Linked DNA regions of Homo sapiens: all the other regions are linked to region 1. The links are contacts of gene promoters, found by promoter capture Hi-C in blood cells and fetal thymus (Javierre and others, 2016). All regions are on one chromosome and are shown on one strand. Each heading gives the region's core, a stretch centred on a gene start or on the middle of the fragment in contact. The rest is flanking DNA. Distances are from core to core; before and after follow the strand shown. Region 1 holds the start of TMEM177 (transmembrane protein 177). Region 2 has its middle 24 kb from the start of TMEM185B. Region 3 overlaps RALB (RAS like proto-oncogene B). Region 4 overlaps LOC105373989 (putative cuticle collagen 91). Region 5 overlaps RALB (RAS like proto-oncogene B). Region 6 has its middle 7.4 kb from the start of TMEM185B. Region 7 has its middle 46 kb from the start of INHBB.

Region 1 (3,355 bases), core at 461-2,960:
CAGTGGCACAATCTCGGCTTACTGCAACCACCATCTCCCAGGTTTTAGCGATTCTCCCGTCTCAGCCTCCTGAATAGCTAGGATTATAGGCGTGTGCCACCATGCCTGGCTAATTTTTGTATTTTAGTAGAGACGGAGTTTCACCATGTTGGCCAGGCTGGTCTTGAACTCCTGACCTCAGGTGATCTGCCCTCCTTGGCCTCCCAAAGTGCCAGGATTACAGGCGTAAGCCACCGCGCCCAGCCCAAGGTGTCTTTTTTACAGTTAGTTTATTTGGTTCAGGATCCCAATAAAAGTCACATATTGCATTTAACTGCAATGACTCTCAAGTCTCTTTTCTTTTGAGTCCCCCTCCTTCCCTGTTTATGCCATTGATTTGTTGGATAAACCACGTCATTTGCCCTGTAGAATGTCCCACATTCTGGCTTTGGCTGAGGTCACATTGCACTATTTACATACAAACAACTGAGCAGCCAAAATTGGGGGGGGGGGCTCAGAAACAGAACAGACTTTAATAATAATAGCTAATGGCTAGGCGGCACAAACCGTGAGGCACAGGTTACATATACACCAACTCATTTTATCACACAGCTAGTAAGGGGTGGAGCCCGGCTTTAACCCTAGGCAGTCTGTTTTCACCCTCTGTAAAGGATTGGGCATGGCTGTGTTCCAAGAAAACTTTATTTACAAAAGCAGGTGGAGAGCTGGATTTGGTGCACAGATTAGATGATCCCTCATCTACCTCACAGAGCAGCTGGAAAGGAGAAATGACAGATGGCACGCTGCTCTGTGGACTGTACAGTGTGAAGCACCTGGGAGGAGCTTGGGGGGCAGCGAACATGGTAATAAACATAAAGCTCAGAGCTCCCCGCCAAGGGTGAGCGCTTCCAGACGGAGAAGTACACGGGCCGGCCAGTCAGATGGGCATGGGTTCTGATGGGGGCCCTGCCATAGGCCGCCTGGTGACCCACGCGGGGCTGCCGTTCCTTCGGGGGTTCAACGGCATGATCAAAGACACCGGGATGTGTGTGTGTGTGTGTGTGTGTGTGTGTGATGATCAAAGACACCGGGGTGGGTGTGTGTGTGTGTGTGTGTCATGATCAAAGACACCAGGGTATGTGTGTGTGTGTGTGTGTGTGTGGCATGATCAAAGACACCGGGGTGTGTGTGTGTGTGTGTGTGGCATGATCAAAGACACCGGGGTGTGTGTGTGTGTGTGTGTGTGTGACGGAGTCTCGCTCTGTCGCCCAGGTTGGAGTGCAGTGGCGTATTCTCGGCTCACTGCAACCTCTGCCTCCCAGGTTCAAGCGATTCTCCTGCCTCAGCCTCCCCAGCAGCTGGGGACTACAGGCGTGCGCCACCACGCCCAGCTAATTTTTGTATTAATCAAAGACGCATTTCAACGCAGAGGAGGAAGTGCTAGCGGACCCACCCCAAGGTGCACAGTTAGAGAAGGAGCCTCTGCGGCGGCCGGAGCCCCCCACGGACATCCCCTTGAGGCCCCCCCAGCCACACCCCCAAGAGTCCCGCCCCCAGACCCGTCGAGCGAGCTCCCCTCCCTGAAATCCTCGCCCCGAGATCTCCGGCCGGCGAGCTCCGCCCCCTGAAGTCCCCATCCCAAGATCCGGGGCCGGCGAGCTCCGCCTCCCGAAGTCCCCGCCCCCAGATCCCCGGCCGGCGTGCTTTGCGGCCGCCCTGCCGCGCGCACATGTAGGCGTTCCGAGCGGCGGCGGAGGTGAGCGCACGGACGAGCGGGAGGGACCCTTCTCCGGCCTGATGCGACCCGGTAACGCGTTCAGACTGCGGAGTAGCCTAGGGGCCCAGAGTGGAAGCGTAGCGAGGACCCCTCTGCGGGGCTCCTGCAGCCCCTCCTCCCCCAGCCACCGGCGGGCTGCATGGTACTGTGTTCTAGGCCCACCCCGCAGCGCGATGGCCCTAGGGACGTTGGACTTTGGTCCAGACCTTTCCTTTCTTAGCCTCACTTTCCGCATTGGGAAAAAAAAAAAGCCCGAATGATAATGATTCTTATAGGAGTTCTTGATTAAGATAGGCCAAGCGGTACCCTGCGTTTTTGTTTGCGGCAACTCATTCGTTGCTCATTAAGCACTTTTCACGGACAGGAATACAGTAAGTTTCAATCAAAGTGAAATAATTGTGAATTTTTACTGACGTATTCACGGATGAAGTGATAGGATGCCCGGGGATGTTTCAAAATAAACCAGTTGGACGGAAGTGTGGTGGAAAGAGAAATCAAACAAGATTGGCCATGAGTTGATGGGATTGAAGTTGATGGATGTACTATTTTGTCTACTTTGGTATATGCTTGTAATTTGGCATAACAAGTTTTCTAAAACAAAAAGTTTGCTGTGGACACCTGACTATGCCTGTGTTAGCTTGCTAGAGCTGCCATGCCGAAGTACCGGAGACTGGGTGGCCCAACCAGCAGAAATTTGTCCTCTGGGAGTTATGGAGGCTGGAAGTTCAAGACCAGGGTGTTAACAGGGTTGGTGTCTTCTGAGACCTCCCTTCTTGGCTTGTAGGTGGTAGCCTTTTCCCTGGATCCTCACATGATCTTCCTGCTGTGCCTGTTTGCATCCTAATCTCTTCTTATAAGTACACCAGTCAAATTGGATTAGGATCCATACTGATGGCCTCATTTTATCTTAATTATCTCCTTAAAGACCCTGTCTCCAAATACAGCCACAGTCTGAGGTACTGGGGGTTAGGACTTAAATATATGAACTGGGGAGGAGGAGGAGACACAGTGCAGCCCATAACACTGTCACTTCACTAGCTTAGGATTTTGGCCATTTAAGTTTTCACAGCTTTGAAATAGGGTTAGCTGTAGTAATTAGGTCATGGGGTTGTGAGGGTTCAATCGGTAAGAGTGCTCAGAACTGAGTCTAGCATATAGTAAGCACTCAATAAATTGAACACGTTTTTCCTTATAAATTAGTAATCATAGGGCTTTACCATGGGATGAGTGGAATGAGGCAGTTGGAGTGCCGTGCCCAGCGATGGGAATAAAAGTCATTACAGCCATTATTATAAGGAATATCTGCTGCTGTGCCAGACACTAAATGTTTTATGTATGTTTATTCATGTGCTCATCACCGCCACCCTAGAGGTGGGCCATTACGACACACCTGTTTGGCACATGGGGAAATTGACGCACAGAGACGGAGCTGGGATTTGAACACAGGCACTCTGGCTCTAGAGCCCACACTCTTCACCACTATGCTGTGTTACTTTGGTTTAAAAAGGTGGTGTGGACCCTGGAGGATGTTCAGTCTGCAGGCTGACCCAGGGAAACTGGCTGACTTCTCTTTTTCTTGGCCCAGATTGTCCGCAGTGA
Region 2 (3,511 bases), core at 163-2,662, 520 kb after region 1:
AGATCATGAGGTCAAGAGATCGAGACCATCTTGGCTAACACGGTGAAATCCCGTCCCTACTAAAAATACAAAAATTAGCCGGGCATGGTGGCGCACGCCTGTAGTCCCAGCTACTTGGGAGGCTGAGGCAGGAGAATCGCTTAAACCCAGGAGGCGGAGGTTGCAGTGAGCCGAGATCACACCATTGCACTCCAGCCTGGGTGACAGAGCAAGACTCTGTCTCAAAAAAAAAAAAAAAAAGAAATATTAGAAACTGAATCCAACAGCATATTAAAATGATCACACACAATGACTAAGTGGAATTTATCCAAGAATGCAAGGGTGGTTCAACATCAGAAACTTAATCAAAATAATACATCACATTAGTAGAATGAAAAAAAAAATCACAGAATCATCTCAATTGACACAGAAATGGCCTTTGACAAAAGCTAACACTGTTTCATGATAAAAACACTTAGAAGTCCAGGCACGGTGGCTCATGCCTGTAATCCCAGCACTTTAGGAGGCCAAGGCGGGCAGATCACTTGAGGTCAGAAGTTCGAGACCGGCCTGGCCAACATGGTGAAACCCCGTCTCTACTAAAAATACAAAAATTAGCCATGCATGGTGGCACATGCCTGTAATTCCAGCTTCTTGGGAGCCTGAGGCATGAGAATTCCTTGAACTTGGAGGTAGCAGTTGCAGTGATCTGAGACCACGACACTGCACTCCAGCCTGGGCAACAGAGTGAGACTGTGTCTCAAAAAACCAACCAACCAACCAAACAAGCAAACAAACAAAAAAACCCACTCAGAAAACGAGAAGTATATGGAAACTTCTTCAACATGGCAAAAGCCATATATGAAATACCTAGAGCTAACATCATACTCAATGGTGAAAGACTGAAAGATTTTTCTCTAAGATCAGGGTCAAAACAAAGATGTGCACTTTACCACTGCTATTCCACGATGTACTGGAAGTTCTTGCCAGAGCAATTAGACAAGAAAAAGAAATGAAGGGCATCCAAATTGGAGAGGAAGAAGTAAAACTCAATTCGCAGATGAAAACTCCCATATATAGAAAATCCCAAAGAATCTATAAGAAAGCCACTAGCACTAATAAATGAATTCATCAAAGTTCAAGGGTACAAGATCAACACACAAAAATCAATTGTGGTTCTATATATCTGCAAGGAACAATCTGCAAATGAAATTTAGAAAATAATTGTACTTAATAATACCATCTAAAAGAATAAAATACCTAGAAACAAATTTTACCCAAAAGATGACTTTAACCAAGAAGATGAAAACTTACACAGTGAAAAATTTTAAAAATGGCTAAAAGAAATTAAAGAAGACCTAATGAAATGGAAAGACATCATATGGTCATAGGAAGATTTGATATTGTTGTCAGTACTACCCAATGCTATCTACAGAGTCAATGCAATCCTACTCAAATACCAACAGCGTTTTTGCAGAAATAGAAAAACTGATCCTCAAATTCATTAAAAAAAAAAAATCCCCGCAAGGCATTAAAACACACACACACACACACACACACACACACACAAACTTGAAGTTGCCAAAACAATCTGTAAAGGCAGCACAAAGTCGGACTCACACTTCCCAATGTCAGAACTTACTACAAAGCTACAATAATCAAAACAGGTTTGGCATAAGGATATATGGTCCAATGGAACTGAGAGTCCAGAAATAAGCTCATATGTCTATGACTGATTTTTGACATGAGTGCCAAATGGTGAAAGAACTATCTTTTCAACAAGTGGTACTGTGACAACTGGATTTCCACTTGAAAAAGAATGAGGTTGGCCTCTCCCCTACATGGTTCATAAAATCATGTAAATAAAATATTCATAGAATTATTGATCAATGGATCAACAATCTAAATATAAGAACTAAACTTGAAACACCTGGAAGAAAGCATAGGGGTAAATCAGGTCCTTGGAGCTGGCAATGGGTTCCTACATATGACACCAAAAGCATGAGCAACACCAACAAAGAAAAATTGGGCTTTATCAAAATTAAAAACTTTTGTACATGAACGGACATTACCAAGAAAAGTTAAAAGACAAAGTACAGATGGGATAAAATATGCAAAATATATAATTGATAAGAGATGAATCTCCAAAATACATAAAGAACAACGCTCAACAAAAAAAGATAAACAATCCAATTAAAACACAGGCAAAGGTCTTGAATAGACATTTCTCTAAAGAAGATATGCAAATGGCCAATAAGCACATAAAAGATGTCAATATCCTTAATCATTAGGATAATACAAGTCAAAACCACAGTAATACAACTGCATCATCTACTAGGATAGCTATACATTTTATTTTATTTATTTTATTTTATTTATTTTATTTTATTTTATTTTTGAGATGGAGTCTTGCTCTGTCGCCAGGCTGGAGTGCAGTGGCGTGATCTCAGCTCACTGCAACCTCTGCCTCCCAGGTTTAAGGGACTCTCCTGCCTCAGCCTGCCACATAGCTGGCATTACAGGCACGCGCCACCAGGCCCAGCTAATTTTTTGAATTTTAGTAGAGATCGGGTTTTACCATGTTGGCCATCATGAGGTCTCGATCTCCTGACCTCATGATCCGCCCACCTCGGCCTCCCAAAGTGCTGGGATTATAGGCGTGAGCCACCAGGCCCAGCCGCTATACATTTTAAAAAAGGAAAATGTTGATGAAGACATGGAGAAATGGGAAACCTCATACATTGCTGGTAGTAATGTAAAATGGTGCAGGTGCAGCCAGTGTGGGAAAGAGTTTGGCAGTTCCCTAAAAAGCTAAACATAGAATTTCCATATGATTCAGCAATCCTCCCCCAAAGCATATGTTCACTAGAGTTTAAAACAAGGACTCAAACAGATACTTGTAAGTCAATGTTCACTGCAGCATTATTCATAATAACCAAAAGGTAAGAACAACCCAAATGTCCATTAATGGATGGATGGATAAATATACAATGGATATACCACATGTACATCCTACAATGTGTGTGAATCTTGAGGACATTATGCTAAGTGTGATAAACCTTATACGAAATGACAAATACTCTATTATTCCACGTGTCTGAAATATCTAGAATAGTGAAATTCATAGCGATGGAAAGTAGAATAGAGGTTACCAGGGGTTGGGGAAGGAAGGGAATGGGAAGTTGTTGTTTGATGGGAACCCAGTTTCTGTGTGGGATGATGAAAGGGTTTAGAAGTGGATAGTGCTGATAGTCGCACAACAATGTGAATAGAATCAATGCCACAGAATCATACGCTTAAAATGCTTAAAATGGCAAATTTCATAATTATATATATACACACACACACACATACACACATATACATATATACATGAGTGTGTATATATAAAACTACTCGGCCAGGCACGGTGGCTCATGCCTGTAATCCCAGCACTTTGGGAGGCTGAGGCGGTTGGATCACCTGAGGTCAGGAGTTCGAGACCAGCCTGGCCAACAGGGTGAAACCCCGTCTCTACTAAAAATACAAAAAA
Region 3 (3,187 bases), core at 450-2,949, 580 kb after region 1:
GGGTTGATGAGTCTTGGATAGGTGACAGTGGAAAGAAAGATGAAGAGGATGTGGAAGTGAGTGTCAAAGAGGGACGGTATATGTGCTTACTAGAAGCAATTGCAAAATTCTAGCCAGGTCTCAATTTCAAGTTTGTCACTTTAAAAAAAGTAGCTGCTTATAATTTTCCTTAGTGTTCTCCTGGCTGTTTTTGTTTTTGGTGATGGTGGCTAGTTGTTTTTTAGTTGAAATCTAAATGCAGAAAAGAAAAATGCCATTAATTGATAATTACCAATATATTGTTTTCATTGTTGCTTTTGTCAGTGCTTTGTGGGCATTTTTTATATATAGCATTGTTCCAAGCTATACGGCATGAGATGAAGGAAATATAGTAGTTTGGTCCTGCGTGCCTGGCTGCCTGTAAAGTTTGCCTACCTTTTGAATGAGTTTTCTGTTGCTGCATAACAAATTTCCCCAAACTTAGCAGCTTAAAACAACAGACATTTATGATCTCACACAGTTTCTGAAGTTGAAATCTGGGGACAGCTTGGCTGGGTGCTTCTGGCTCATGGTCTCTCCTGAGGTTGCAGTCATCTGAAGCTCGACTGGGACCAGAGGATCTGTTTCCAAAATGGCACGTTCACATGGCTGTTGGCTGGAGGCCTCAGTTCTACACCATGTGGGCCTATGCACAGGGCTTTTCACAACATAGCTTTTCTCCCCAGAGCAAGTGATCTGACGGGGGTGGGGAGAGAGGGAGAGAATGAATATGATAATGATCAAGATGGAAGCAGCAGTATATTCGTGGCTGATATGGTTTGGCTGTGTCCCTACCCAAATCTCACCTTGAATTGTAATCCCCATAATCCCCATACGTTGTGGGAGGGACTCGGTGGGAGGTAATTGAATCATGAGGGCAGTTTCTCCCATACTGTTCTCCTGATAGTGAGTTCTCACGTGATCTGATGGTTTTACAAGCGTCTGGCATTTCCCCTGCTGGCACTCATTCTCTCTCCTGCTGCCCTGTGAAGTGGTTCCTTCTGCCATGATTGTAAGTTTCCTGAGGCCTCCCCAGCCCTGCGGAACTGTGAGTCAATTAAACCCCTTTCCTTTATAAATTACCCAGTCTCGGATATTTCTTCATAGCAGCATGAGAACAGACTAATCCAGTGTCTAATCTTGGAGATGGCATACCATCCCTTCTACCAGCATTCAGACCAGACCTGGCACAATGTGGGAAAGGACTACAAGAGGGGAGGTCAGGGCACATCAGTATTCTTGGAGGCTAGCCACCACAACTTTTTTAAGGTTTAGTCCAGACATCATTGAGAAAATCTTTCTTTCAGATGTTTACTGAAGTATACTGTAGGAGATGGAAAGACAGCTGAGGTCTTTAGTATTGTAGAAGCTTTAATACTATATGTGAAACTTTTATGTTCTTTCTTCCGGTTCTTTGTTAGATGCTGGAATTAGCCAAGTATGCAGTAGCTTTGGAAATAGAAATTCAGATCTTGCTGGTCCCTAAACCAAAAGGAACATCTGAATTTTTTTCTTTAACCCCAAAACAAGTTGGTAAAAAAATATTGCCAAAGTAATCTCCTTTGATGAATGGCTTAAAATTAGTCATTCATTATCTGTGTGTTCTTAAAAATAAAACTCATTGGCAAAGTAGCTGAAAAATTTTGGGGAACCTAAACCCTCTTACTCCTCCCCATTATTTTAAAACTTTGGATACTGCTTGTTTGCCTAGCAGTTCTTCAGTTCACTTTTGAGACCCTCATACATTTTAATTATTGACCTGGATAGAAGGGCGCTATTCTTTTAGCTCCAGATGAAATCTTCCTGAAGTGCCTATAGGTGGAGAGAAGAGTTTCTGGATCCTGAGCCTGAGCCTGGCTAAATGACCTCTAAGTCCCTTCCATCTCTGAAAATTCTATGATCCTTATTTTTTTTTTATAACGAATATCCTTTGAGTTGTGCATATTTATAACAAAATATTTCATTGATCATGTTAAATTGCAACCTCAGAAGACAAGCTTTTCTGAGAATAGCTTTTGTTCTTCCCAATCCAGTTGAAGGTTGTTAGAGTCACTGTTAGGCAGAGTTGAAAAGTCAGCACTATTTGCACTTCCTCTGCTTCCTATTTTTGGCCCCTTGCCCATCCTCTGCCCTAATTTATGAGCTAGTATCTTTCTTTTCTTTCATTCTACTTTCCTTGTAATCCCCCTCCTTCCTCCCACAGGAAGGATTGGTGGCCAGTCCTTTACTGCTGATAGCTGATGCTATTGTTAGGAATGAATTTTAGCCAATGTGTTACCTCTAGTAATACTTGCATGGCAAACCTTTTAAAAATCTCAAATTATATGTGTTCATGTAGTAAACACTGCCATTTTTTAACATCCTAAGTAGCCCTAAAATTTAGTCACTTTCCTCATGTGCATTGTTGTCTCCTTAGTCCCCACCGTGTTGCCGGCCTGGCCTGGTGCATACCCACATCTGCTCTTGACCCCTCTGTTTTTCTACTCTGTAGCCAGAATTACCTTTTCAACATTCAAGCCTAATTATGTTACCCATTGACTTGAAACACTTCAGTGGCTTTCCAGTGCTTTCAGTCAAAGGTCCCAAATCCCTCAACTTGGCCTACACTGGGGTCTTGAATGATCCCGCCCTTCCTTACCTCCTCAGTGTCATCTTGTACTGGGCTCTGCCTCTTTCTCTCTGCTGCAGATAGCTGTGAAGGTCTTTCTCGAGTTTCTTGAGTGGACTTTGCTTCCTCTTGCTTCAGGCCTTCCTGAATGCAGTGTGTGTGTGTGCAGGCACGCGTGATTGGGGGTGGGGGAGTGTGGAGGAGTCCTAGGTAGGAAAGCGCTTGGCACATTCACAGGGCTGGAAGAAGGCAAGGAAAAGGCCACGGAGGCCACGGCCAGTGGAGGGTTTAGCTGCCGCTCATGGTGAGCCTTTAAGGAGCGTTAAGCACAGTTTCATGTGCAGTGTTAGAAGCCCCATTGGAAGGGCTGTGTGGAGAACAGATTGAAGAGGGGCTGGAGTGGTAATGAGGGGTCACTTAGGAAGCTGGGGCTGTTGAATGAATGGTGGCAGAGAAGATGGAAGAAGTGCATGGCTTTGAAATGTATGTTGGAGATGGAATAGCTAGAAATGGTCATGAATTGAGCTGGGGAGAGGCAATGGGAGTCAAAAATGACTTCCA
Region 4 (3,438 bases), core at 14-2,513, 650 kb after region 1:
AGAAATGAGGGCAGAGCAGGAGGAGTGAATCCGTCAGAACTTACATCTCTTCACTCATTCAGCAAATTCTTGCTGGCCCCCGCTACATGCTGCTTGGGGATAGGGGAGAAATGAGAACTGGAGGGTGTCCAGGTTGCTTTGGCTGTCGGAGAGAGGTCCCAGCCCAAGGTTGTAGGGCACCGGGAGAGCCTGCACAGTCTTGTGCTGTCGGCAGGGGTGTGGGGGGTTGAACATATTTGCAGAGCCCCACCTGCCTGCTCTGGCTCTCTGGAATGGCTCCGCTGTGTTGGGAACAGCTGGTCTTCGCTGCACTTTCCTATCCAGGCCATCCCACAGCCACCATGGCCTGCAGTGGAGCAGGCACCCAGTAAAGACAGGTGATGGTTCTTAGAACCTGCTGTACACCATCCCACCCCTGACCCAAGTGAGGCTGCCGGGGGCACATGCAGCTCCAGGCACTCAGCCTACATCATCTCCCCTGACCCTGCCGGCACCTCTGCTGTGAGCCATGTCCCCTCGAAACTCATATGTCCAAGCCTGAACTCCCAGCACTTCAGAAGGTGACTGTATTTGGAGATTTGGAGATAGGGCTTCTAAAGAGATAATCAAAGTAAAAAGAGGTCATATGGTTGGGCCCTAATCCAGTGTGACTGGTGTCCTTATAAGAAGAGGAGATTAAGACACAGACACACACAAAGGGAAGACCGTGTGAAGACACAGGGAGAGGACGGCCACCTGCAAGCCCAGGAGAGAGGCTGCAGGAGACATCAACCGTGCCGACACCTTGATCTTGGACTTCCAGCCTCCAGAACTGTGAGAAAATAAATCTTGTTGTTTGAGCCATCCCGTCTGTGCTACTTTGTAAGGGCAGCCCTAGCAAACTAACACAGCTTCCGCGGAGCGGGATGTCATCCCCATCTAACAGATGAGGTCTGTAGCGCTGCCAGATGCCACACAAGGAATGCCGGGCCAGTTCCTAAACCTCCCTGAGCCTCTGTTTCCTCATCTGCAAAGAGGGATTAATGATAATTTTGTGGTAAGGATTCAGTGAGATAGGACACAATGCATGTTTGTTCCCCACGCATGCCTCGGCCTGATTTGATTAAGAAGCCCATGGGCCTGGGGCAGAGGCTAGCTGTGAGTTCTGCATGTGGTTGACAGCTGGTGTTGATGAATGGTATGTTAAAAATAAAACCCAAACCAAAAAGCCTTTTGCACTCTATGGAGAACCTGAAATCGGAAGCGCTCAGTTTCATTAGTTGGCAGACGTCTCTGACTTGTGAACCTGACCGGGCACCCTGGGACTCCCTATGTCAAAGTCTTCCTACGGCAGCCTCCAGCGAGGTGGGGGAGGGTGAGAGGGCGCGTCTTCCAGGCACTGTCTGCCTGACTTGACCCTGGTAAAGTGTACACGGGAACAGAGCCCTAGGGACCAAGCCCTCAAGCCCAGGGGCAGAGCTAGCTGCCCGCCTGTAGGCACCATTGGTGCAGTGTCAACCCAGTGGATGTTCCCTGTTAAGCCTGTGCCCTGCTCAGCTCAGCTCGGCTGTGGGAGTCAGCTTCCGTCTGCCTGGAGACACCCGAGGGTGCAGAGCAGCACGTGCAGATATGTTCCTGGGGGCGGGTACCACTTTCTCTTTTATTTGGAAGTTGTCTTTCACAATGAAACAGCCTTTAAGCCACATAACCTTTTTCCATCCCTGAACCTGGAGGGGCCATCGAAATCCTCAATGTCACTCTGGGGGAAGCTGATTCTGGGAGGGACCCAAGGGGGAGGGCAGGCAGGGGCCCTTCTTTGGGTTGGTCCAGAGACCTACTCTGTACCACTCAATTATATTTTAAAATCTATCTGTACGCTTTCACACCACAAGTCCTAAAGCATCTTTAATTAGGTCCCACACACAGATACACACACCCAGCTCAACAATGATAGAAAACGCCAAATTCCAGTTGACAAGGAGCCAGAAGCCCAGCCTTTCCTCTGGCTAAACAGAGGGACCCATTATGCTGGAATATTATTTTCTCATGGTTTGGAACCATTACATCAGCCTTGATGTAATAACATTGTTTAACTTCAGAGGTGTATTTATTTTGGTTTGGAGTTCAGATAGTTTAGCCGTTAGCTGGGGATTGAGCAAAACCCAGACAAAGCCACTAAAGTTTGAAATGAACCATTCTGCCGTTCCCCTTCTCTGCTCCCCAGAATAAATATTCTTCAGATGTAGTTTCATCTCACAGCAAAGGTGGTGACCTGGCTGCTGATAAATTTTGGAGGCAATTTTTTTTCCCCTCTGGTGGTTGGCCAACATGATGATGACCAGCTGGGCACTGAGTGGGTAATCAAGCCCCAAACCCAGTAAGGACTTGGGAATTCCACCAGCAGCTTCTCTGAAGATAGCCTGTGATCTTTCCACGGTTCCTCCATAAGCCCAGCTCTTCTCCTTAAATAACTCGCTACAGGTGGCGCTTTGATCGGTCACCGTGGGGACACAGGGGATGGCTCTTGTTAGCGGCTGAGCCCAGAGGGCCAGGTCTCCAGACAGGAGCTCTTAAGAGCCCCAGAGAGTAACTGGAGGCTTCTAATTGTTTCCTCTGAGCCCAATCCTTGGAATGGGTGGAAAAAACTCTGGTATCTGGGCTGTGATATCCTCTGTGCTGGAGTGCAAGTGACAGGAACTGTGAAATGACCACTGAGGCCGGGTGGTGGAGGCGTGGGAGCCCCAGGGCTTGTTGGTTGGGGAGCCCTCCCAACTGCATGTTCCTTCTAGCTCCATGCATTTCTGTCCCACCCTCCACAGCAACACCACCATGGGGAAGAGTTTCCTGGCAGGTCCACTTGCTCATCAGCCATTCTTTCCGAGGCCTTCTTCCCCCACTCTACTGTGATAGCTCTTGGCTCTTATCAGGGTCCCTACCAATCTCCACGTGGCCACGTCCCGGGTGCATTCCTGTTCTCATGGTACTCCATGCTCGCAGCATTTGGCACTCGGCCCTCGTTCCCTCTCCACCATGCTGGCCCGTTTTCCTCCTCCTTTGCTGGCTCTCTGGCCTTCAAAGGCCAAAGTGCCCCAGGGTTCCTCCTTGGCCCTCTTCTCTTCATCAACACCCTCTCACTGAGCGAACTCATCTGGCCCCTGGGTTTCAATACCAGACAGTTACTGGTGGCTCCCCAAACGGTATGACCTCTGCCCTGAATCCCAAACTTCCCCATCCAACTACCTCTTCAGCAGTTGCCCTTGGCACCTAACAGGCCTCTCGAAAGCAATATACCCAAGCAGAACTTTCACTGTCCTAGGTCTCTCCCCATCCCTTCCTGCCCCGTGAATGGCATCCTCCTCCTGGCTCAGCCCCATAACCTGGGATCCATCTTCTTGTGTCTTTCCTTCATATCCACACCCAATCTTTCAGCCAGGTCTGTCAGCTGAGGCAAATCCAGCC
Region 5 (3,401 bases), core at 330-2,829, 600 kb after region 1:
GGTATGTCAGGCAGTTTAATTAATAAAAATATTGTTATTTTGCTGGATTTTGTGATGTCAGTGCTGTTTGTATTAGTTTTTTTTATTACTGTATAATAATCACAAAGTTAGCAGGTTAAAACAACATACATTTGTCATTCCATAGTTTCCATGGGTCCAGAATTGGAGCCTCAGCTGAGTCCTCTGCTCAGAGTCCCACAAGACTCCACTCAAGGTGTCAGCTGGGGCTGTGACCTCTTCTGAGGCGTGGGGGTCCTCTTCCAGGCTCCCTAATTGTTGGTAGAATTTAGTTCCTTGTGGGTGTAGGACACAGGTGCTCGGATTCTACAAGTTGCCCGCAGGCCCCTGCCATGTGCCGTCTCCATAGGCAGCTCATACCACAGTGGCTTGCTTCTCCAAGGCCGGCAGGACAGTCTCCAGCCAGCCTAGACGGTCTTATAAAATGAAATGGAAACATGGGGGTATTCCCTTCGCCTCACTGAGAGTCACCCGGGGGTGAGATCGCTGGAGTACTCATCTTTAAAACTTTATAATGGATTATGATTTCTCATTCAATGTCAACATTTACTTTAATGTCCAGTATTACGTGTGTAATTTTGTATCTTAAGGAAGGGCCCCCATAATGAATAAGCTTCAAACCCAAACCTGGTTATCCTCCTGGGTCATGCTCCCCATGTCTTATAATGAGACACTTTTGTGTTTGGTACCTGCTTTTCTTTATCTTATTCTGGGGGGTCAAACTGGATAAATCTAATGTAATCTGCTGAATTTCCCCAAAACGTTTTTGCATAAGAGAAGCAGGTTGGGAGATCTGCATCTGCTTTGTAGGTCTTTTGTTTGTTTTTGCTCAAAAACTTATAATTTGCTTACGAAAGCTTTTTTCTCCCCTATAACAGAGGTTGGGGAAGAGAGGGGGTGGTGAGTAGGGGAATTAGGATTAGGGAGATAGGATTAGGGAAGTAGTTGTTAACAGAGGTGAGAGAGGGGGATTTTGCTTCCCCAGGGAATATTCGTAAGTGCCTGGAGACATTTTTGGCCATCACAGCTTGGGGGAAGATGCTACCAGCATCTAGTGCGTGGAGGCCAAGGACGCACTCAGCATCCTACATCACACAGGACAGCCCCGAACAAAGTATTAGCCAGCACAAAATATCCACAATGCCACTGTTGAGAAACCTGCATTAGAGGCAGAGCCGTGGCAGATCCAAGGAGAGAAGATTCCCCTACAGTGTTAGTGATTGAGAGGCCCTGGGTTGCCAGTTCCAAGAGCAAGTTCAGATACAGAGCTGGGGCCGGGCGCGGTGGCTCACGCCTGTAATCTCAGCACTTTGGGAGGCCGAGGCGGGCAGATCACCTGAGGTCAGGAGTTCAAGACCAGCCTGACCAACATGGAGAAAACCCATCTCTACTAAAATTACAAAATTAGCCTGGTGTGGTGGTGCATACCTGTAATCCCAGCTACTTGGGAGGCTGAGGCAGGAGAATCGCTTGAACCTGGGAGATGGAGGTTGCAGTGAGCCAAGATCGCACCATTGCATTCCAGCCTGGGGAACAAGAGCGAAACTCCATCTCAAAAAAAAAAAGATAACAGAGCTAGCACTGCTGAGGAGACTAGGAGAGCCTGGTCTGGAGGTTTCTGGGTGTGTGTGTGTTGGGGAGGGGGGCGGGGGTGGGTAAGAGGAGGGGGCAGATGCATGCAGAAGATTCGAGAGTTTTTTCTCTTCTTTCTGTTCTCTTCACAGAGACCAGGGAAAGCTGTGCCTGGCCTTAGTCTGTTTTTCTCATGGGCTAACATACTTGAGAACTGGAAAGTGGCAGTTATTGAAGAAATTGTAAAATAAAATTGGGGCAAGGAAGGAATAGAAATGAAGTGATGTATGTTTGGGGGAGGAGTTCTAATCGATTTTCTAAAACGGTGCTAATAGAAACTTCCATGATGATGAAAATGTTCTGTATCTATACTGTCCAATACAAGTGGCTATTGTGCATTTGAAATGTGGCTGGTGGCTACTATATTGGACAGAATGGTTCTAGAATCATAATTTTTTAGCTCGAAGAGACCTTAGCAGTAATTGTCAAACCTAGCTGATTATAGAATTTCCTGGGAGACTTTAAAAAAAAAAAACACCTCCTGAATAATATTGGTGGAGTTGGAGAACTGGGACTCTTTCAGTGGTGCTCTTCTGGTGGTTCTGCCGCGTGGCCAGGTGTGGCAGCTCCTGCCTGAGAGATCATCTAGTCAGGAAATTGAGCTCTGTGTTCAGGGAGGCCGGCTGTCTAAATCAAGCTTGTCCAACCTGTGGCTCAGGATGACTTTGAATGTGGCCCAACACAGATTTGTAGACTTTCTTAAAACATTCAGAGATTCTTTTTGCAATATATTTTTTTAGCTCATCAGGTATCGTTAGTGTTAGTGTATTTTATGCGTGGCCCAAGACAGTTTTTCCGATGTGGCCCAGGGAAGCCGAAAGATTGGACACCCCTGGTCTAAAGTCTCCTGCACCATTCAGACTCTTTGTTCATAGTGCATGCTTAACCCTTATTTAAAATTGTTTAGCTTATGTGATGGAATTTTCATGAAGATTAGATTATGGAAGGAGCCATAGTCCCAGAGTCTTTATTCTTGTCTAAGTTCTGACTTTGAGAAAAATTGGAGGGAGCTGCCAGGGTGGCAGCAGTCAGATTTTAAGCTCCTTATGCTCGGCCTAACATACTCGTTTTTGCCTTTTTTGGGAGAGTAAGGTTGGGGATGGAGAGGCTTTGGCAGCAACCGTTTCAGACTTTCAGTCTCTGGCAGCTTAGAGGAAAGTCAGCTTAGAAAGAAAGGGTCCACGTGAAGTTTGTCTTAGACTCTTGGGCATCTGAAACTGAGCCATGCAGAGCTCTGCAAGGCCAGTAGGGGATACGTATGGTTCACGCTAATGGATACAAAGACTTTGTGATTTTCTGTTTCCAGCTGAGCAATGTAAATAAACATCAGGGTTGTAATGGAATGTTGGGGTAATCAGCATACTTTTCATTGAGTACAGAGGTATGTAGGTACAGCAGGACATTCTGACTTCTGTGTCAAAGGAGCCAGTGGAACTCTGGCTGGCTTTATCCTTGGAAGCTCAGAAATATACAGTTGAGATAATTTATGGTAGAATTCAGAGATTTTCAGGGGACAGTCGTGTGTTGGATTTTTTTGGCGTGTATTTTTCTTTTTGGAAAGGAGTTAAAAGAAGGACACTTGAAAGCACAGGCAAGTTTTCACATCTCTATTTGGAGATAATTTATTAGTACACGTTGAAGAGAACCTAATACTAAACATGTCTTAATATTTTTATTTTTGAGTAGCTGTTAACTGACAATACAAGGCTCTTTTTAACAGTCTTCCTCAAATAACCTTTAATTCACTTGGA
Region 6 (3,454 bases), core at 707-3,206, 550 kb after region 1:
CTAATCAACAGTGTCTTAAATGTGATGAAATGCCATAGATAGAAACACTTCTCAGATTTCCATAAACATGTGAGCATGTTTTCAGTGGCCCCACAATATTACATTAAGGGTAGTGCAATACTTTACTCACCCATTGCATTGTGTATTTGAGTTAGTTTCATTCTTTTATGAAATGAAGGGACTGCGCTCTATCTTACGGCTTCTTTGCATCCAGATTGTTTTTAAGGGTAGATTCTCAGACACAGACATGCCATGGTGAAGGAATGAATACAGTAGTCCCCCCTTATCTGAGGTTTATCTTTCCAAGTTTTCATTTACCTGCAGTACACCGAGGTTTGAAAATATTAAATGGAAAATTCCAGAAATAACTCCTAAATTTTAAATGACACTCTGTTCTGAGTAGCGTGACAAAATCTTGCTCCATCTAGCCTGGGACGTGACCCCTCTCTTTGTCCAGCATCTTCACACCGGGCGTGCTCCCTGGGCGATCACATCAGCTGCCGCCAGATCACTGTCCCTCTGTTCAGGTCACCCGTGTTTGACTTAATAATGGCTCCAAAGCACAAGAGTACTGTGCCTAATTTACAAATTAAACTCTATCGTAGGTGTGTATGCACAGGGAAATACATAGTGTGTATAGGGGTTTGGTACTATCTGCGGCTTTGGGCATCTACTGGGGGTCTTGGAACATATCCCCTATGGATAAGGGGGGACAACTTCATTCTAAAGACCCTTGACACATAAAGCCTAGTGTGTCTTTTTTTTTCCTTTTTTTTTTTTTTTTTTTTTTTAGATGGAGTCACTCTGTCACCCAGGCTGGAGTGCAGTGGACTGATCTCGGCTCACTGCAATCTCCACTTCCTGAGTTCAAGCAATTCTCCTGCCTCAGCCTCCTGAGTAGCTGGGTGGTACAGGTGCACCACTATGCCTAGCTAATTTTTGTATTTTTAGTAGAGATGGGGTTTCACCATCTTAGCCAGGTTGGTCTCAAACTCCTGACCTCAGGTCATCTGTCAGCCTTGGCCTCCCAAAGTGCTGGGATTCCAGGCGTGAGCCACTGTGCCCAGCCTTTTATTCTGTTTTCTGTGTTATCTTTGAGGAAATGGAGTCAGTGCCACCCCGAGTTGTGGTGTGAGTCTGCTTGTATTGATAGCAGCTGGCAGAGCTTATTTAGAAAACTCCACAGGGTTGAAGAATTAAAGAGGCTGAAATCAAAGGTAGACTCAAGTATAGGGCTGTATAATATTAAAAGTCAACTAAAAACAGGGCTAGTGTTGACATGTTTGTGAGTGTGCAAATGCAGAAGTCAGGGTTTTCCGCGTCAGATCACAGCCTTCAAATGTTATGAACAACACAGTGAGCATTGGGATCATTTAATTTGAGGCATTCACATATAATTAAATATAATTAATTCAAACTAATATTTTGTGGAGGTGAGTGGGAAGCTTCCTGAATTATGGAATTAGGCAATCCAGGTATCAATTGTACTTAAGTTGACATTACTAAAATATTTTCAAAAGTTTTCATGTACAATTTAAGTTTTTTCCCCAGTCTTATTTGCACTCTTAATTTACTCAGCAAAACATTTTTTTCTTGGACAAAGGTCATTCCCAGCCCGGCTCTCACCTGGCTTTGTCATAAATTCCAAGAGAGTGTGATGTGGACAAATGATGTGCTTCCTGCGTCAGAAACAGACGTTTGTAAAATTGTAATCCTAATTTCACTCTGGGTTGCCTTTCATTCTTCCATTGCCAGGTGCAAAGCAGCAAAAAAGTAAAATAAAATAAATGCCTCTGCACGCCACTGAGAGCCAGGCCCTGGAGTTACCCCATGAACAGTGTGGGGCTCCTGACTTAAAGGGGCATCCAGCAGTATAGCAGGCAGCACGGCCTGATGACTCGGGCCACAGGAGCATGGCCCTCCCCTGTCAAAGCTGACTTCTCGTTTCTCAGGACAAAATCCATACGCTTTACCGTGCCCTTCAAGGCCCTGGCTGACCGGCCGTGGCCCATCTCCCTGGCCTCACCTCACTGCCCATGGGGCTCCTATGGCCACCTCAGCTTCTTTCTGCTCCTCAGACTCCCAGACTGGAGCCGTTGCTGCCTCAGGGTGTTGCTTTATGTGTTTTCACAGATGCCTTTAGGGGAGATAGACCTAAAAGAGTCTGGGCAACATGCACAGCCTCCAAGCAGTTCACTCATCACTCAGCTACTATGGCCAGACTGCCTGCTAGTGCCCGGTAGGTGCCAGGCCCTGGGGAAGGAAGCAATGCCCTGTGGCCCTTGTTCCCAAGGACCGAGCACTTTTCCACGCAGTTAAGGTGCACAAACACAAAACACCGAATAACGCTGAAAGAGCCCAAGAGAGGACCAGAGGTCACTGGGCTGAATATGATGAAAAGTCAACTAAAAACCAGAAAAAAAAAAAAAAAAACATTGGAAATAAGCTATAGGGCAGCGATCAGGGAGAAGCTTGTGCTCTGAGCTGCAACAGAACCCCAAGGAGACCACTATCAAGAGGGTGCCCTGGTGTAGTTAAGCATGGGCCAAAGAAGGGACCACCTGGGTTCAAACTTGGCCTTGTCATTTCAGCAGCTGTGTGTCCTTGACCAAATGGCTCAGCCTCTCTGAGTCTAGGTTTTCTCATCTGTACAATGGGGATAATAATATCTACTTCACAGGATAGAGGTGAGATAATAGAGATACAGGCCTGGCACATTCAGTAGATGCCCGCATGGGCACGTACTCCCCTCCCACGCCCCACCCTGTGCTGGTGTAGAAGAGAGTGCCCAGGAAGATCTGTGCTCGAGTCAGCTGGGCATAACTAAGGACACCTTAAATTGTGTAACCAGGTGACAGGCACCTCATTCATTCTCCACCCTGGGGCTGGTTCTGCTTTATAAATTAAGGGGGCCAGGGTGGCCCAGAGGTCCCCAGATGCAGGTCCAAATGCAGCATTGCTGGCTACATACAGGCAGATTCTGGGGCCTCACCCCGAGAATCTTGGTGATTCAGACTCACCAAGTCAGAATCCTTGCGGGTGAGGCTCGGAAACCATTTTTGTAAGTCTTCCCAGGTGATTCCAAGTACAGCCAGGTCTTCGCACCCACACAGCCAGACGGCCCCTGAAAAGCTTTCTCAGCCTTTGCAGTCTGTTTCTGGCCGCATCAAATGTGCTGAGCAGTGTGGGTTTGGTTCAGTGTTCATCCCCCACTTTCATCAGAGACAGGGGGCTTCTCTTGGTCCTCACTCATGGGAGGAAGCCGCAAGCGGAGACGACTAAGTGGAGAAATAAATCTCTAGCAGCTGCCTGCTGCCCTGCTCTGGAGGTTGTCTGCGAGGAGGAGAAACGGCTAACTTCCAAGAACTGGGGTGCTTTCTCCCCACCTATCAGCTGAATCGAAACTGAAAATATGCCTCCGAGGCTGGAGATCCGTGACAGGCTTGAAACCTTG
Region 7 (3,390 bases), core at 344-2,843, 620 kb after region 1:
TCATCACTGATCAAATTGGTGCAGCCCTCCCTGGTTGTCCCTTTGCAGTGGGGGCCCTGGCTTTTCCCTCTCTCCCGTTATCGGGGCCTTCTCCTTATCTGCAGGGTCTGAAATGAACACAGCTGTGGATCTTAAGTGTGGCTGTTTTGTGACTCATCCTGCTTGGTAGTCGGCAGAGGCTTCCAATGAAGACTCCTGCCTCTTCAGCTCTAGAAAAAGTATTTTTGAAATTCTTTGATCGCTTCTGTTTTCTCCTTCCAGAGCTCCTGTTACCACCTTTGGAACCTCCTAGATTCATGTCTGCTCCATCCATTTCCTATATTTTCCATCTTTATTTTCTCTCAAATTTATCCTCCCTCCCTGTGTTTTTCCAAGCACTTTGCCAAGCACTGTTGTAAGTTCTTGAGATAGAGCAGTGAGCAAAACAGACAAATTCCTTGCCCTTTGGAAGCTTACACTAGTGGGATCAACTTTGTCTTCTCACTTGCTCACCGTGTGTATGTGTGAACAAAAGCTTTCTTTGTCTTTATTTGTTCCTTTTTCATAGCAACTGTTCTTGGCGGCCTTACGGATTCAATATCTTGACTTTTGAAGGATATTAGATCTTTTGAAAGTTGTATTTTTATTCACTTTTTCTTCTTTATTTTTTAAGCTGCAGTTTTTCTCACGTATCTAATGATTCCTGCTTGTCCAGCCATATTCTTAGGAGGAAATAGAAAGTCGGCCAGGAGTTCCATGTACATGAGTGGGGCTTGTGAAATAGCAGGCTTGACTTTGGGGTGAATGGGTAGAAAACCAGTCATAGTGCTGGGAACCCCTAATGCCTAATCGAGGGAAGGTGTGCTCTGGGGGCCATTGGCCAGGCTGGATGCCTTGGTTCACTCCAGGCAGTTTCTTCCAAGAGAAAAGCACTGGTGATGGACAGAGCTGCCTGCAGGGGTGGGGTGGACCGTGTCCCACACAGACCTCTACCTAGGCTCTCTAGCCACGCACCGTGGTTCTGCTGCTCCATCTGCCGGTTCAGACTGAGCCGGTCCTGTTGCCCTCATCTCAACAGATCCTTCCTTATCGAACGGCTCACGTCTGGGTTTCAGCTTCTGTAAATTTGTCAGATTCACACATCAGCTAGTGACCCTTCCATTCTCTTTGCCCTTTGGGTTTTTTAAATACTATTATTTGAAGAGAGGCTTCAGGGGAGACTAACTTTTGGGCTCAGCTTTCCATTTTGCCCTGGTTTCATTGTCACAAATACTTAAAATTTCCTTTTTTTGCAGATCAATGTTAAATAAAGATTAGAGTGAACACATTGATTTGACTTTATGCAGGGGTCATTTTGAACTTGAGGGCCTATGGCAATCTCTGTTCTCCAGGAGTATGGACCTCAGCATTTGGGGTCAGACCTGGGTCTGGCCAGTTGTCTTTATTTAATTTTTGAGACAGGGTCCTGCTTGGCCACCCACGGTGGAATGCAGTAGTGCAATCATGACTCACTGCAGTCTTGAACTCCTGGGCTCAAGCAATCCTTCCGTCTCAGTCTCCACAGTAGCTGGGAATACAGATGCACGCCACCATGCCTGGCTAATTTTTAAATGCTTTTGCAGAGATGGGGTCTTGCTATGTTGCCAGACTGGTCTTGAACTCCTGGGCTAAAGCGTTCTGCCTGCCTTGGCCTCCCAAAGCGCTGGGATTACAGGTGTGAGCCACCATGACCGGCCTGGTCAGTTGTCTTCTGATACCAACTTTCAAGTGAGGGAATTGTGAGTTTTCACTAAGCCTGTGTTGATTTCACTTATATGTTTTGCTTTTACCTCTTGGTGATCAGTTTATTACCTGTGCAGGTAACAACCTGAACTGCCCGTGTGGAGTAGTACATCCTTTGTCTTATCTTTTTTGAAATGTAGCTGACTTGGGATGTTCTCTTGTTTTTATATGGTCAACAAATCTAAGTTAATTTACCTGTGCTGTTAGCGGTTTTGTAGATTTTTTGTTCTCAGGTTTGGGACGATCCTGCTTGCCAGCTGCAGTTGGTGAGTTACCTGCTCCTTGGTGATGCTGCTTTTTAAAATGCATATTGTCAGTGCAGACTTCCTGATTTCCTTTTGTAAGTTGCTACACGAGGCCCGCTTTGAGGACTTTTTAGAAAGGATGTAGTACAAGTTTTAAAACTAATTTGGGCCCTTGGGTTTAAGGCTGTTCTTCTCTATTTGAGTAGATATGAATGAAAAAAGAGACTTCCTCCAACACCCTTCCGCCCCAGCCTTTGTCTAATTCAAGTGCTAGAGCTTGTCCTGACACACCGCAGCTTGCTGTTCATTTCTACTTGTTCAGTTGTGTGCCACCAAGCTAGACGTGTTCAGTCACACTGACAGTACTGTCAGGATGATTCATTGCCACACACGTAGCTCAAGTCGGAATGGGGCCTCTGGTCGTGTCTGAGAAGCACAGAAACCTGGCTAAGCTGAGGATTCGGCCTCCCACCCAGGTTGGTGAAGGTGCTGCGGCCTGGGAGCAGGAACGGAGCCCCCAGCTGCCAGGAGTGTGAAGCTGCTTCTCCGCAGTGCAGCCTCCACAAGCCTTCTCAGGTGGCAGTGAAGAAGGACCAGATACCTAAACAGTTTTCAAGTTCCGGAATCCTTGGGAAAGTTAGTGTCCATCAACTTCACATGTTAAAACAAGCTTACGGCTGGGCGCGGTGGCTCACACCTGTAATCCCAGCACTTTGGGAGGCTGAGGCGGGTGGATCATGAGGTCAGGCGATCGAGACCATCCTGGCTAACACAGTGAAACCCCGTCTCTACTAAAAATACAAAAAAAAATTAGCCGGGCGTGGTGGCGGGCGCCTGTAGTCCCAGCTACTCAGGAGGCTGAGGCAGGAGAATGGTGTGAACCCGGGAGGCGGAGCTTGCAGTGAGCTGAGATTGCGCCACTGCACTCCAGCCTGGGCGTCAGAGCCAGACTCTGTCTCAAAACAACAACAACAACAACAACAACAACAACAACAACAAACCAAGCTTACTTATTTCTAGTAGTTAAAAACATCTCAAGGTGAGTGTTGCACAGGAATCAAAGGGATGAGCTGGTTAACTTCTTATGGGCTAAGTCATCAGTTACTTCTTGTGTATTTTCAGTAGTTGCAGCTGGGAAAGTTTTCCTAAAATCTGATTTATGTGGCGAAAACACATGTATGATATTATTTTAATCCTGTGGTAAAACTCTGTGAGTCTAGACTGCCTTAATTAGCCACACATTGGTTTGAGTGAGAATCTAAGACAAGAAGATGTCCTGACCCATGAAGTTTCTTCATCCCAGCGCAGCTGGAAACGTAGCCCCAGGCCAGGGTTTCTCAGCCTGGGGGAGGGCTGCGGCATTCTGCAGGGGCTGGCACTCAGT

The links. The method cuts DNA at HindIII sites, captures the fragments that hold promoters and counts their contacts. A CHiCAGO score of 5 or more calls a contact.
Region 2: a contact is called between a fragment that was not itself captured here and the fragment with the promoter of TMEM177 in region 1, in 2 of 17 cell types (total CD4 T cells and non-activated CD4 T cells). The highest score is 6.6, in total CD4 T cells.
Region 3: a contact is called between a fragment that was not itself captured here and the fragment with the promoter of TMEM177 in region 1, in 9 of 17 cell types (total CD8 T cells, non-activated CD4 T cells, total CD4 T cells and 6 more). The highest score is 12.6, in total CD8 T cells.
Region 4: a fragment that was not itself captured here is called in contact with the fragment with the promoter of TMEM177 in region 1 in 1 of 17 cell types (monocytes); the score reaches 5.7 in monocytes.
Region 5: a contact is called between a fragment that was not itself captured here and the fragment with the promoter of TMEM177 in region 1, in 1 of 17 cell types (naive CD8 T cells). The highest score is 7.5, in naive CD8 T cells.
Region 6: a fragment that was not itself captured here is called in contact with the fragment with the promoter of TMEM177 in region 1 in 8 of 17 cell types (total CD8 T cells, non-activated CD4 T cells, total CD4 T cells and 5 more); the score reaches 13.3 in total CD8 T cells.
Region 7: a fragment that was not itself captured here is called in contact with the fragment with the promoter of TMEM177 in region 1 in 9 of 17 cell types (activated CD4 T cells, total CD8 T cells, total B cells and 6 more); the score reaches 9.7 in activated CD4 T cells.

Annotation. Positions count from the first base shown.
Region 1 is chr2:119,677,491-119,680,845 of GRCh38, forward strand. It overlaps TMEM177 (transmembrane protein 177), which reads left to right and starts at 1,711. Exons shown (of 2, transcript NM_030577.3): 1 at 1,711-1,786; 2 at 3,342-3,355. RefSeq lists a silencer at 1,558-1,787. The HindIII fragment of the contact is 6,463 bases long and covers 1-3,355 here.
Region 2 is chr2:120,197,487-120,200,997 of GRCh38, forward strand. No RefSeq gene overlaps it. Among named protein-coding and RNA genes, the nearest start is that of TMEM185B, 24 kb to the right of the region's middle. The HindIII fragment of the contact is 6,427 bases long and covers 1-3,511 here.
Region 3 is chr2:120,255,588-120,258,774 of GRCh38, forward strand. The region is part of intron 1 of RALB (RAS like proto-oncogene B); the gene reads left to right. Among named protein-coding and RNA genes, the nearest start is that of RALB, 4.3 kb to the left of the region's middle. The HindIII fragment of the contact is 628 bases long and covers 1,386-2,013 here.
Region 4 is chr2:120,330,101-120,333,538 of GRCh38, forward strand. All of the region lies in intron 1 of LOC105373989 (putative cuticle collagen 91), which reads left to right. Among named protein-coding and RNA genes, the nearest start is that of INHBB, 14 kb to the right of the region's middle. The HindIII fragment of the contact is 6,192 bases long and covers 1-3,438 here.
Region 5 is chr2:120,280,907-120,284,307 of GRCh38, forward strand. All of the region lies in intron 2 of RALB (RAS like proto-oncogene B), which reads left to right. Among named protein-coding and RNA genes, the nearest start is that of RALB, 30 kb to the left of the region's middle. RefSeq lists an enhancer at 2,727-3,240. The HindIII fragment of the contact is 1,412 bases long and covers 874-2,285 here.
Region 6 is chr2:120,229,048-120,232,501 of GRCh38, forward strand. No RefSeq gene overlaps it. Among named protein-coding and RNA genes, the nearest start is that of TMEM185B, 7.4 kb to the left of the region's middle. RefSeq lists enhancers at 2,111-2,160, 2,893-3,102, 3,343-3,454. The HindIII fragment of the contact is 1,026 bases long and covers 1,444-2,469 here.
Region 7 is chr2:120,298,223-120,301,612 of GRCh38, forward strand. No RefSeq gene overlaps it. Among named protein-coding and RNA genes, the nearest start is that of INHBB, 46 kb to the right of the region's middle. The HindIII fragment of the contact is 2,162 bases long and covers 513-2,674 here.